4 separate regions of the Homo sapiens genome follow, and regions 1, 2 and 4 are each linked to region 3. The links are contacts of gene promoters, found by promoter capture Hi-C in blood cells and fetal thymus (Javierre and others, 2016). All regions are on one chromosome and are shown on one strand. The core of a region is centred on a gene start or on the middle of the fragment in contact, and the rest is flanking DNA. Distances in the headings are between cores, read along the strand shown. Region 1 has its middle 8.9 kb from the start of LINC01144. Region 2 has its middle 10 kb from the start of LINC01144. Region 3 holds the start of KIF2C (kinesin family member 2C). Region 4 holds the start of NASP (nuclear autoantigenic sperm protein).

Evidence for each region. The method cuts DNA at HindIII sites, captures the fragments that hold promoters and counts their contacts. A CHiCAGO score of 5 or more calls a contact.
Region 1: a contact is called between a fragment that was not itself captured here and the fragment with the promoter of KIF2C in region 3, in 1 of 17 cell types (naive CD8 T cells). The highest score is 5.2, in naive CD8 T cells.
Region 2: a fragment that was not itself captured here is called in contact with the fragment with the promoter of KIF2C in region 3 in 5 of 17 cell types (total B cells, activated CD4 T cells, naive B cells and 2 more); the score reaches 8.0 in total B cells.
Region 4: the fragment with the promoter of NASP here is called in contact with the fragment with the promoter of KIF2C in region 3 in 7 of 17 cell types (non-activated CD4 T cells, naive CD8 T cells, neutrophils and 4 more); the score reaches 11.0 in non-activated CD4 T cells.

Annotation. Positions count from the first base shown.
Region 1 is chr1:45,311,453-45,314,152 of GRCh38, forward strand. No RefSeq gene overlaps it. Among named protein-coding and RNA genes, the nearest start is that of LINC01144, 8.9 kb to the left of the region's middle. The HindIII fragment of the contact is 4,516 bases long and covers 1-2,700 here.
Region 2 is chr1:45,292,326-45,295,025 of GRCh38, forward strand. No RefSeq gene overlaps it. Among named protein-coding and RNA genes, the nearest start is that of LINC01144, 10 kb to the right of the region's middle. The HindIII fragment of the contact is 1,469 bases long and covers 585-2,053 here.
Region 3 is chr1:44,738,471-44,741,225 of GRCh38, forward strand. KIF2C (kinesin family member 2C) reads left to right here and starts at 1,367. Exons shown (of 21, transcript NM_006845.4): 1 at 1,367-1,532; 2 at 2,443-2,537. The coding sequence starts at 1,463. RefSeq lists an enhancer at 1,018-1,187. The HindIII fragment of the contact is 10,096 bases long and covers 1-2,755 here.
Region 4 is chr1:45,582,715-45,585,414 of GRCh38, forward strand. It overlaps NASP (nuclear autoantigenic sperm protein), which reads left to right and starts at 1,327. Exons shown (of 15, transcript NM_002482.4): 1 at 1,327-1,491. The coding sequence starts at 1,433. RefSeq lists enhancers at 403-462, 913-1,222 and silencers at 753-812, 1,723-2,022. The HindIII fragment of the contact is 9,802 bases long and covers 1-1,509 here.

The sequences.
Region 1 (2,700 bases), core at 167-2,666, 570 kb after region 3:
CAAGGCGGGCGAATCACCTGAGGTCAGGAGCTCAAGACCGGCCGGACCAACATGGAGAAACCCCATCTCAAAATACAAAATTTAGCTGGGCATGGTGGCGTGCACCTGTAATCCCAGCTACTTGGAAGGCTGAGGCAGGAGAATCGCTTGAACCCAGGAGGCAGAGGTTGAAATCAAATGAGATCATGCCATTGCACTCCAGCCTGGGAGACAGAGTGAGACTCCATCTAAAAAAACAAAAAAAGAATCCGTTTTCATTTGTAACAGGACACAATTGGAGAAACTGGTTATTTAACCAAGGCTTTGACTGGAATAGTGTGCTTTCCTTTGAGAAATCAAACCTGACTTACGGAGCCAATAAAGCCCTTGGGAAAACTGGCATCATATTTTGTGTATACAGTCCCTATGCAGGGTTTCTGATGTGTGGTAAGTAAATAACGTCACATTCTGACAGGCCCAGAAGCCCCAGGTTTATCTTGGAACCTCAAGAGGAGAGGAAATTCACCCAACTCACAGATATTTCATGGCACAAATCCATGGCTGGGCTCGACTTTTAAAAAGTCTTTTCTGAGATTCCTCTTATGTAATGAAGTTCCATCAAAGCCAATTTAAAAGCCTATGTATGGTGGACACGGTGGGTCACACCTGTAATCCCAGCACTTTGGGAGGCTGAGGTGGGTGGATCACCTGAGGTCAGGAGTTCAAGACCAGCCTGGCCAACATGGTAAAACCCCATCTCTACTAAAAATACAAAAAATTAGCTGGGCGTGTTGGTGGCGTTCTGTAATCCCAGCTACTCAGGAGGCTGAGGGAGGAGAATTGCTTGAACCTGGGAGGCTGAAGTTGCAGTGAGCCGAGATAATGCCATTATACTCCAGCCTTGGCAACAGGAGCAAAACTCCATCTCAAAAAATAAAATTAAATAAATAAATAAAAGTTTATGTAAAAAAAATTATTCTTGCTGCACTTTATACAAATGATTATGACAAGTATAATAAAGCAAGCCAGTCCTACGATGATTTGTCTTTAGTAAAAATGGGAACCTGGAGAGAGAAAAATTATGTTTTGGAGCTACAGTACACCTGCTGTTAGATTCTAGTCTTGCCTAATGTTTTTTCAATTTTTATTTTCTTTTTGCTTTTTTTTGAGATGGAGTTTTGCTCTTGTTGACCATGATGGGGTATAATGGTGTGATCTCAGCTCACTGCAACCTCTGCCTCCTGGGTTCAAGTGATTCTCCTGCCTCAGCCTCCTGAGTAGCTGGGATTATAGGTATGTGCCACCACACCCAGCTAATCTTGTATTTTTAGTAGAGATGGGGTTTCTCCATGTTGGTCAGGCTGGTCTCCAACTCCTGACCTCAGGTGATCCGCCTGCCTTAGCCTCCCAAAGTGCTGGGATTACAGGTGTGAGCCAGTGTGCCCAGCCCAATTTTCATTATTTTCTACAGTCTGGACCGAATTCTAATATTTTCTTGGCTACAAGTCTTCAAAATGATGTTTTTATTTTTTTCTCCTTTTTTTCCCCCATTTTTCCTAATTTGGAGTCACTGAAAACTAAGCTGTGCTTTCTTAAAGCCCTATGAACTGAAGCCAGACAACTTAAATTTCAGACTGTTCATGATATGCTTGGAGTTTCTGGTTTGTCCTGAACATCCCTCCTTCTTAAACAACTAGTCATTTTCTCATATGAAATTTCTCTTTCTCATATGAAATTACTTCTCCCTAAGCTGCCTGGCAAAAAAAAAACAACCTATTTATTTAGGGTTTTTATTTTAATTAATTAATTAATTTATTTATTTTTGAGATGGAGTCCCACTCTGTTGCCCAGGCTGGAGTGCAATGGTGCCATCTTGGTTCACTGCAGCCTCCTCCTCCTGGGTTCAAGTGATTCTCCTGCCTCAGCCTCCGAAGTAGCTGGGATTACAGGTGCGCGCCACCATGCCTGGCTAATTTTTGTATTTTTAGTAGAGATGGGGTTTCACCTTGTTGGTCAGGCTGGTCTTGAACTCCTGACTTCAGGTAATCCACCCACCTCGGCCTCCCTAAGTGCTAGGATTACAGGCATGAGCCACTGCACCTGGCCACCTGGCCTTATTTTTTTTTTGAGACGCAGTCTCGCTCTTTTCGCCCAGGCCCCAGTGCAGTGGCGCTATCTCAGCTCACTGCAAGCTCCGCCTCCCAGGTTCACGTCATTCTCCTGCCTCAGCCTCCCGAGTAGCTGGGACTACAGGCGCCCACCACCACGCCCTGCTAATTTTTTGTATTTTTAGTAGAGACGGGGTTTCACCGTGTTCGCCAGGATGGTCTCGATCTCCTGACCTCGTGATCTGCCCGCCTCGGCCTCCCAAAGTTTTGGGATTACAGGCGTGAGCCACCAGGCCCGGCCTATTTATTTATTTATTTATTTTGAGACAATGTCTCACTCAGCCACCCAGGCTGGAGTGCAGTGGCATGATCTTGGCTCACTGCAACCACCATCTCCTGGATTCAAGCGATTCTCCCATCTCAGCCTCCCGAGTGGCGGTGATTACAGGCACCCACCATCATGTCCAGCTAATTTTTGTATTTTAGTAGAGACAGGGTTTCACCATGTTGGCCAGGCTGGTCTTGAACTCCTGACCTCAGGTGATCCACCCGCCTCGGCCTCCCAAAGTGCTGGGATTACAGATGTGAGCCACTGTGCCTGGCCAAACCTCTT
Region 2 (2,700 bases), core at 69-2,568, 550 kb after region 3:
ATGACTCTCTGGCACAATTAGCTCTTTGCTTTCACTCAGGTAACTCAGAAATCTTCTGTGCCCTTGTAGAGATGCTCTTCCCTGAAATCCTCACATTTTAGAACCTGTATCAGCCCAACATCTCCAGCTAGTGTTAATTGGGAGGGATCTCTCCACCACTTTCCCCCTCTAGAGAGCTAGCCAGGGGCCAGGACAACTAGGCAAGCAGGCACTGCACCAGCTACCCTCACAGCAGTTCCCATGTGACATTCTATTTAATCCTCACAACAAACCTGTGAGTTAGGCATTATTATATCTTCATTTTACAGATGAGAAAACGAAGGCACCACACAGTAAAGAAACTTCCCTATGCCAGGCACAGCGGCTCACACCTGTATTCCCAACACCTTGGGAGGCCAAGGCAGGAGCATCACTTAAGCCCAGGAGTTCAAGGCTGAAGTGAGTCACAATCGCATCATTGCGCTCCAGCCTAAGCGACAGAGGAAGGCCCCTGTCTCATTAAATACATAAATAAATAAAAGAAACTTGCCTAATGCCACATAGTTAATGATACTTGACCTAGACTAGAGAAAGCTTCCTTGAGAAGCTTTGAGCTGAAGGAGTAGAAAATAGAAGAATATTGCTATGGTCTGAATGTTTGTGTCCCTTAAGTTTCATATGTTAAAATTTTAACTGCCAAGGTGAAAGGTATTGGGGGGTGGAGGCTTTGGGAGAGATTAGATCATGAGGGTTCCTCATGAATGGGATTAGTGCTCATATTAAAGAAGCTCAAGGGAGCTTGTGTGCCCTCCCAGCATGTGAGGACACAGGAAGAAGGCGCCATCTGTGAACAGGAAGAGGGCCCTCACCAGACACCAAATTTGCCAGCACCCTGATATTGGAGTTCCCAGCCTCTAGAACTGTAAGAAATAAAGCTCTTTTGTTCTATAAGCTACCCAGTCTATGGTATTTTCTTATAGCAGCTCAAACGGACTAAGATGAGTATCATGTGCAAAGGTCCTGTGCCAGGAGGGAGCCTGTGTGTTTGAGAGAAGATCATGTAGCTGAAGCTGGGTAAGAGAGCAGAGCAAGAGGGGCAGAGGCCAGGCTAGACAAGGCCTTGGAGACCTCCTTGAAGTTTTGGATCTCTGTTATAAGAGCAACAGGAAGCCATCAGCTGGATTTAAACAGAGAAATAATGAAGTAAAGTCATCAGTGGGTTTTAAGCAGTTGGAAAAGATTCTTCTGGGACAGTGTAGATAAATGATTGCAGGGCAAGTGAAAGGCAGGGAGACCATTAGTGTCCATGGTGGTAATCCCAGCAAGAGACGGTGGTAATCCAAGCAAGAGACGCTGGTAACGCGGATTAGGACAACAGCAGTAGAGACAGAAGTGAAAATGGAAAGAAGTGGATGCTTTCAAGAGCCATGTAAGAGAGAAAATTGGCAGCACTTGGTGACTGGACACGGCTACAGGGTGAGGGAGAGGTTGAGGTCCAGGTTTCTGGCTGGTGCAACTAGCTGGGTGGTACATGTTTCACTCAGATAGGGGATGCTGGGCAAAGAAAAGATTTGGGGGAAACTGTGTTCAGCTTGAGACATGTTGGATTTGAGTAAGACACCAAAGGGGAACTATCCAAAAGACAGCTGGACATGGGAGCTCGAAGGTCAAAACAGAGGTGTGGGCCTGAGTACATATTTGGGAGCTGTAACCAGGACCAGCCCATCCGCTAAGCACAGTAGAGACATGAGTGCCCCAGGACTTTTAGGGCTGACAAAAATGCTTTAATTCCTGATATGGTTTGGATGTTTGTCCCCACCCAAATCTCATGTCAAATTGTAATACCCAGTGTTAGAGGTGGGACCTGGTGGCAGGTGATTGGATCATGGGGGTGAACTTCTCATGAATGGTTTGGCACCATCCTCTTGGTGCTGTCTTCACAATAGTGAGTGAGTTCTTGCAAGATCTGGTCATTTAAAAGTGTGTGGCACCTCCCCCGCCCCACCCCGCCTTCTTGCTCCTGCTTTCACCATGTGATGGGCCTGCTCTCCCTTCACCTTCCACCATGATTGGAAGCTTCCCGAGGCCTCCCCAGAAGTAGATACCACTATGCTTCCTGTACAGCCTGCAGAACCATGAGCCTATTCAACCTCTTTTCTTTGTTTTTCTTTTTCATTTTTTTAAATAATTGAGATGGGATCTTGCCATGTTGCCCAGGCTGGTCTCAAACTCCTGGGCTCAAGTGATCCTCTTGCCTCAGCCTCCCAAAGTACTAGGATTACAGGCATGAGCCACCATGCCCAGCCAAAACTCCTTTCTTACAAATCACCCAGTCTCAGGTATTTCTTTTTCTTTCTTTCTTTCTTTTTTTTTTTTTTTTTTTTGAGACAGGATTTTGCTCTGTCACTCAGGCTGGAGTGCAGTGGAACAATCTCAGCTCACTGCAACCTCCGCCTCCTGGGTTCAAGAAATCTTCCCATCTCAGCCTCCCCAGCAGCTGAGACTACAGGCACACACCACCACAACTGGCTAATTTTTTATTTTTCTGTAATTTTTGGTAGAGATGAGGTTTCTCCATGTTGCCCAGGCTGGAGGAATTTCTAGCAGTGCAAGAGCACCCTAATACAATTCCCTTTAAATCAGAAGAAAAAACAAACTTTTAAGTCAAAAGTTTTTTGGTTTGTTTGTTTGTTTGTTTTTGAGATAGAGTCTCGCTCTGTC
Region 3 (2,755 bases), core at 117-2,616:
AGGAAGTGAGGAGCGTCTCTTCCCGGCCGCCCATCGTCTGGGATGTGGGGAGCGCCTCTGCCCCGCCGCGACCCCGTCTGGGAACTGAGGAGTGTCTCTGCCCCGCCGCCACCCTGTCTGGGAGGTGAGGATCGTCTCTGACTGGCCGCCCCGTCTGAGAAGTGAGGAGCCACTCTGCCCGGCAGCCGCCCCGTCCGGGAGATGAGGAGCGTCTCCTCCCGGCAGCCGCCCCGTCCAGGAGGTGGGGGGAAAGCCCCCGACCGGCCAGCCGCCCCGTCTGGGAGGTGGGGGGCAGCCCCCTCCCAGCCGCCGCCCTGTCTGGGAGGTGGGGGGGGGGGGCGCCTCTGCCCGGCTGCCCCATTTGGGAAGTGAGGAGCCCCTCTGCCCCGCCGCCACCCCATCTGGGAGGTGTACCCAATAGCTCATTGAGAACGGGCCATGATGACGATGGCGGTTTTGTCGAATAGAAAAGGGGGAAATGTGGGGAAAAGAAAGAGAGATCAGATTGTTACTGTGTCTGTGTAGAAAGAAGTAGACATAGGAGACTCCATTTTGTTCTGTACTAAGAAAAATTCTTTTGCCTTGGGATGCTGTTAATCTATAACCTTACCCCCAACCCCGTGCTCTCTGAAACATGTGCTGTGTCCACTAAGGGTTAAATGGAAAAAAAAAAAAAGGAGGACAGGAACTATGTGTCTAGTTCATTATCTCCATTTCCTGGTACCATGCCTAGCAGGTGGTAGACTTCACTCAATAAATATCTGGTGAATCAGTGTCTTTCTGGAAATTTATACATAACTCCTTGAATGAGGCAACATGCTTCTGCACTATTTAATAAGAAAAACTAAGTCAAGTTTCTAATCTGTGGTTTTGTTTTGCTTTGAGAACAGGGTCTTGGCTATGTTGCCCTGTCTGGTCTCGAACTTCTGATCTCGAGCGATCACTCCCACCTCTCCCTTCCTAAGTGTTGGGATTAACAGGAGTGAGCCACCGCGCCCGGCCAAGTCTCCAACTTGCTCGAGGTCACTGAACTTGCAATTGAAGAAGCTACGATTCGAACCCATGTCTGTAGGATCCCAGAGCCCTCATTGTCAAATACATACTGAAGTTTCCCAGTTTTCGGGAACCCCGCAGTACAAGGTGACCGAGGACAATACCAGAAATGGGAGCCCCAGACCCCACGTAGCGGCGAAGTTCCCAGAAGGCACAGCGCTCGGGGGTGTGGCCAGACGCATGGGCGGTGCCAAGCGTAGGAAGATGGTTGGGAACTGCGTCTCCCCCAAGGCTCCGCAGGGCGCCGCTGACTGGCGGAAGCGAGGGCGGGGACAGCGGAATGACGTTTTAAGGACGCTTGCGCGCGGGATTTAAACTGCGGCGGTTTACGCGGCGTTAAGACTTCGTAGGGTTAGCGAAATTGAGGTTTCTTGGTATTGCGCGTTTCTCTTCCTTGCTGACTCTCCGAATGGCCATGGACTCGTCGCTTCAGGCCCGCCTGTTTCCCGGTCTCGCTATCAAGATCCAACGCAGTAATGGTGAGGAGCGGGGTCCCTAGGTCAAGGGGACTCGTGAGCGGTGAGACGACTGAAATTACTGCCCGTCCCCGGACACACAGATGGGCTTTCACTCTCTTTCTCTCCCTCCCTCCTTTTCACACGCACTCACTCCGGGTCTCTGCACTGGCAGTCATTCTTGCCTACACAGGGGTGAGAGTCCCTGCGCTGTACGTGGTCCCTTTCGCAGTCCTCTGGGAGTGGGCGGACCTTCTCCAAGGCTGGTAGACCTCCCAGGGAAGTTGGGACTTCTAAATTCACTTCCCTTCCAAAATTCTCCCCTGAAAATGCCCTGCTCTTATGGGGACCTCGGTCTCCTGGCCCCTTTACTCTCGAATAAATATTGCGCAGTTGCGGTATGTCAGGTAAACGGGACAGACAAGAACCCTGCGCTTGAGGAGCTTGTAGTCGTTCTCTCTTTTGCTTAAGCAGGTACCGCAGTTCTGGCAGGTCTGATACCCGTGTCATTAGGGAAATGGACAGATATGACCGCCAGAAATGAGTTAGGAAAACCCCAAAAGGGCCAGATCCTCAATGCTATGTTGAGGAAAAGTTCATCTAAGGGTTGTGGGGAATCCTGTGCTCAAACATACCTTTTGTATGTTCTCTTTTGTAGGCTCTATCTCTCTTTTTTTGTAGGCTCTCTTGAGTAGGGGTGAATCCTTATCCCATGCAGCTCAGTTTAAAAACCTGTCCCCAGCCCACCTCACTGTGGATATTCTAAAGGTGAAGCCCAGGAGATTTATTTGTTTCTCTTAGTTTTTTTTTTTTTTTTTTTTAAGGTAGCTGCCTGTTCCTTCAGGTTAACTCCACTTTGGGAATCTCTGTGGAATCCTAAAAGTGAAGCTCTCAGGAAAGAGATGGGTAACTCTGGTTTTTTCATACTTTATAGGTTTAATTCACAGTGCCAATGTAAGGACTGTGAACTTGGAGAAATCCTGTGTTTCAGTGGAATGGGCAGAAGGAGGTGCCACAAAGGGCAAAGAGGTAGGTTCTATGAGAATTCCTCTACCACATTTAATGTCTTCCTACATAAAGGATCTGTGCAGAAGTGGAATCTGTGAGAGCCTAGTTTCTGATGCTGTGCTCTTCTCACTCACGCCTGTAATCCCAGAACTTTGGGAGGCTGAGACGGGCAGATCACCTGATGTCAGGAGTTCGAGACCATCCTGGCCAACATGGCGAAACCTGTCTCTACTGAAAAT
Region 4 (2,700 bases), core at 77-2,576, 840 kb after region 3:
GGCTGCAGTGCAGTGGCGAGATCTCGGCTCACTGCAACCTTTGCCTCCCGGGTTCAAGTGATTCTCCTGCCTTAGCCTCCCGAGTAGCTGGGATTACAGGAGCCTGCCACCACACCTGGCTAATTTTCGTATTTTTAGTAGAGACGGGGTTTCACCATGTTGGCCAGGTTGGAACCTTGGCCTATTTATTTATTTATTTTTGAGACGGAGTTTCGCTCTGTTGCCCAGGCTGGAGTGCAGTGGCGAGCTCTCGGCTCACTGCAACCTCTGCCTTCCGGGTTCTAGTATTCTCCTACCTCAGCCTCCCGAGTAGCTGGGATTACAGGCGCCCGCCACCACGCCCGGCTAATTTTTGTATTTTTTAGTAGAGACGGGGGGGTCTCACCATCTTGGCCAGGCTGGTCTTGAACTCCTGACCTCGTGATCCACCAGCCTAGGCCTCCCAAAGTGCTGGGATTACAGGCGTGAGCCACCGCGTCCGGCCCCTTGGTTTATTTTTCTAAGAAACAGACTAACACTGATCTCACTAGTAGCATTGTTAATATTAAACAAGATAGCTAATAGCTTTAAAGCGTCTAATCACGGTACCCCCACGAGTAGTAGTCACACAGCAAATCATAGGCAGGAGTGGACAAACAGCGCTGGGAGCATTAATTCTGGTAGATTTGGAGTCTGGGCAGGGCCTAAGAGGATGGGATCAGCGGATTGGGCCAGCCAAAGGGGGCGGGTTCAGAGGGAGGAGCCAGCTGCCTCCCGCTGCAAGCCCCGAGCTTTGAATCAAGCGCGGTAGTTTCAGCTGTAGCCAATCCTAGAACAAAATCTTTTTGCGTCAGTTGTTGCTGAGGCCTAGATCTCACCCAGATCAGTTCTAGTCGCTGCTGCTTGTACCCGTCCTCGGCCCTTGCGTGTCCGTCCGTTACGACTCAGAGGACGGAGAGAAAGTCTAAGTCACCTTCCTCAGTATCCAGGCCGGAAGGAGACTCTCAGCTACTCGCCCTGAACATGCAGAGCAGCACTGGCTTCCCTGTCTCTGGATGCCGCAGGGGCGTCCTGTCAGGAGTTGTAGTGTCAAGATTCCAGTTCTTCTTATGCGACTTGCTGGAGAAGCAGGAAGTTGCTGTTTATTGGAGAAGTCGGGCTAGGGAGGGAAACAATCCCGCGGAGCCATATGGAGAGGGCAGGAGGTGTCTAGATAGTGGTAGGCCGGCGGGGGACGGAGGGTATGGGTGGTGAGTCCTGGCCCTTTAAACCCGAGGGGGAGGATCCGGAAGTGGATGGGCGGGGCGAAGGGTCCTCGTATATAAAAGGGCCCCGGCCGCGCGGGGTCTCTAATCTGCCATTTTCTGTCCCTGAGTGAGTCTCTGGCGTCCCAAATTGCCTGTTTTTCTCGCAGGCTCTATTCCGTTCGCTGGTTCGCCACCTCAGGGGAACGATGGCCATGGAGTCCACAGCCACTGCCGCCGTCGCCGCGGAGCTGGTTTCTGCCGACAAGTAAGCGGGACTGTGGAAAGCTTAAGGCACTGGCCAGTCCGCGGGGAGGGCTAATGGACGGGGGCTCCGGAGAAGGGGCAGACCGGTGGGCGGGAGTACTTGCCTTCCCAAGAGCAGCTGTCGCTGTTCGGGAAGGCCTGGTCACTGGAGCAGTCCTTCTTTTGCTGAGAGCCTCGCGCAGCAGCGGTAACGGCGGTCGGCTGGCGCCCCCTGCCCCGCTTTTCGCGGCCGCCATCTTGCCGGGGGCAGCGGCGGCTGTATCCTTCGCCTGCCCCTCTCCTTCCTCCCCCAGCCCGGGGCGGTTGGCCGGGAGGCGGGGCCCTGGCGCGCGGGTTGGCCTTCACGCCCCTTCTGTCCCCAGCGTGTGCCTCTGGTAGAACCCCTGGATAACCCGGGAATATAACCAACGAAGATTTGGCGCCAAAAGGGAAAAAAAACCTTGCACGAGGAAGGAGGCTGGACCTGAGGGGTCGGGGTGGGCGGGGCCTTGCTGAGGGCGGGGTTTTGCGCGCGTGCGTTCGCTTCCCTCGCCGGCCCTGGGGCAGGGGGCGGGGCCTTGAGGAGGCGGGAAAACTCCATTGTTTGGGGCCGCTGCGGCTCCAGCAGGAGCTTTGGACTATCTCCGTGGGGCCGGCGAGGCTAGTTCCCCCCGACACCTCGCTCACGTCTTGTGCTGGGAGATAGTTATCGCTCCCCGCGACTCCGTGAGCCCCTGCCTGTGGTGGGGAGGATTGTCGTTCTTTAGACTTTGGAGGTGGTGTCTGTTTGGGGGGAACATTACCGGACGTAAAGCGTCTTCAGGAAGCGCTGTCTGGAGCTCTCACCAGCACTGTTTGGTTGCTAGGTGAATCGGCAGTAGTATGCACGAAGTGGAGAAGGACTGGAGGGAAACAAGATAGGATTGTTTTGAAAGCGGCACAGTGCCACTCAGGCGTAATCTGTTTTTTGAACAGTGGAGGGAAACACTACACGAGTTCAAGGAAACAAGTGCTGTTTCCCATACAGTAGGTCTGATTTCCCAATCTTGCCATATTTTTTTAGGCATCTGGTTCTATTTTTTTTTCTAATCTTGTGCGCTTTAGAGGTTAGTTGCCTTCCCTGTAAAAGGAATGGTTGCTGTGAAGTTTTTTAAATTGATATTCTATAGGCTTACACTCTGTCATGATTATGTCTTTGTTTGTTTATAGTTAGAGATTTACGTATATCTCT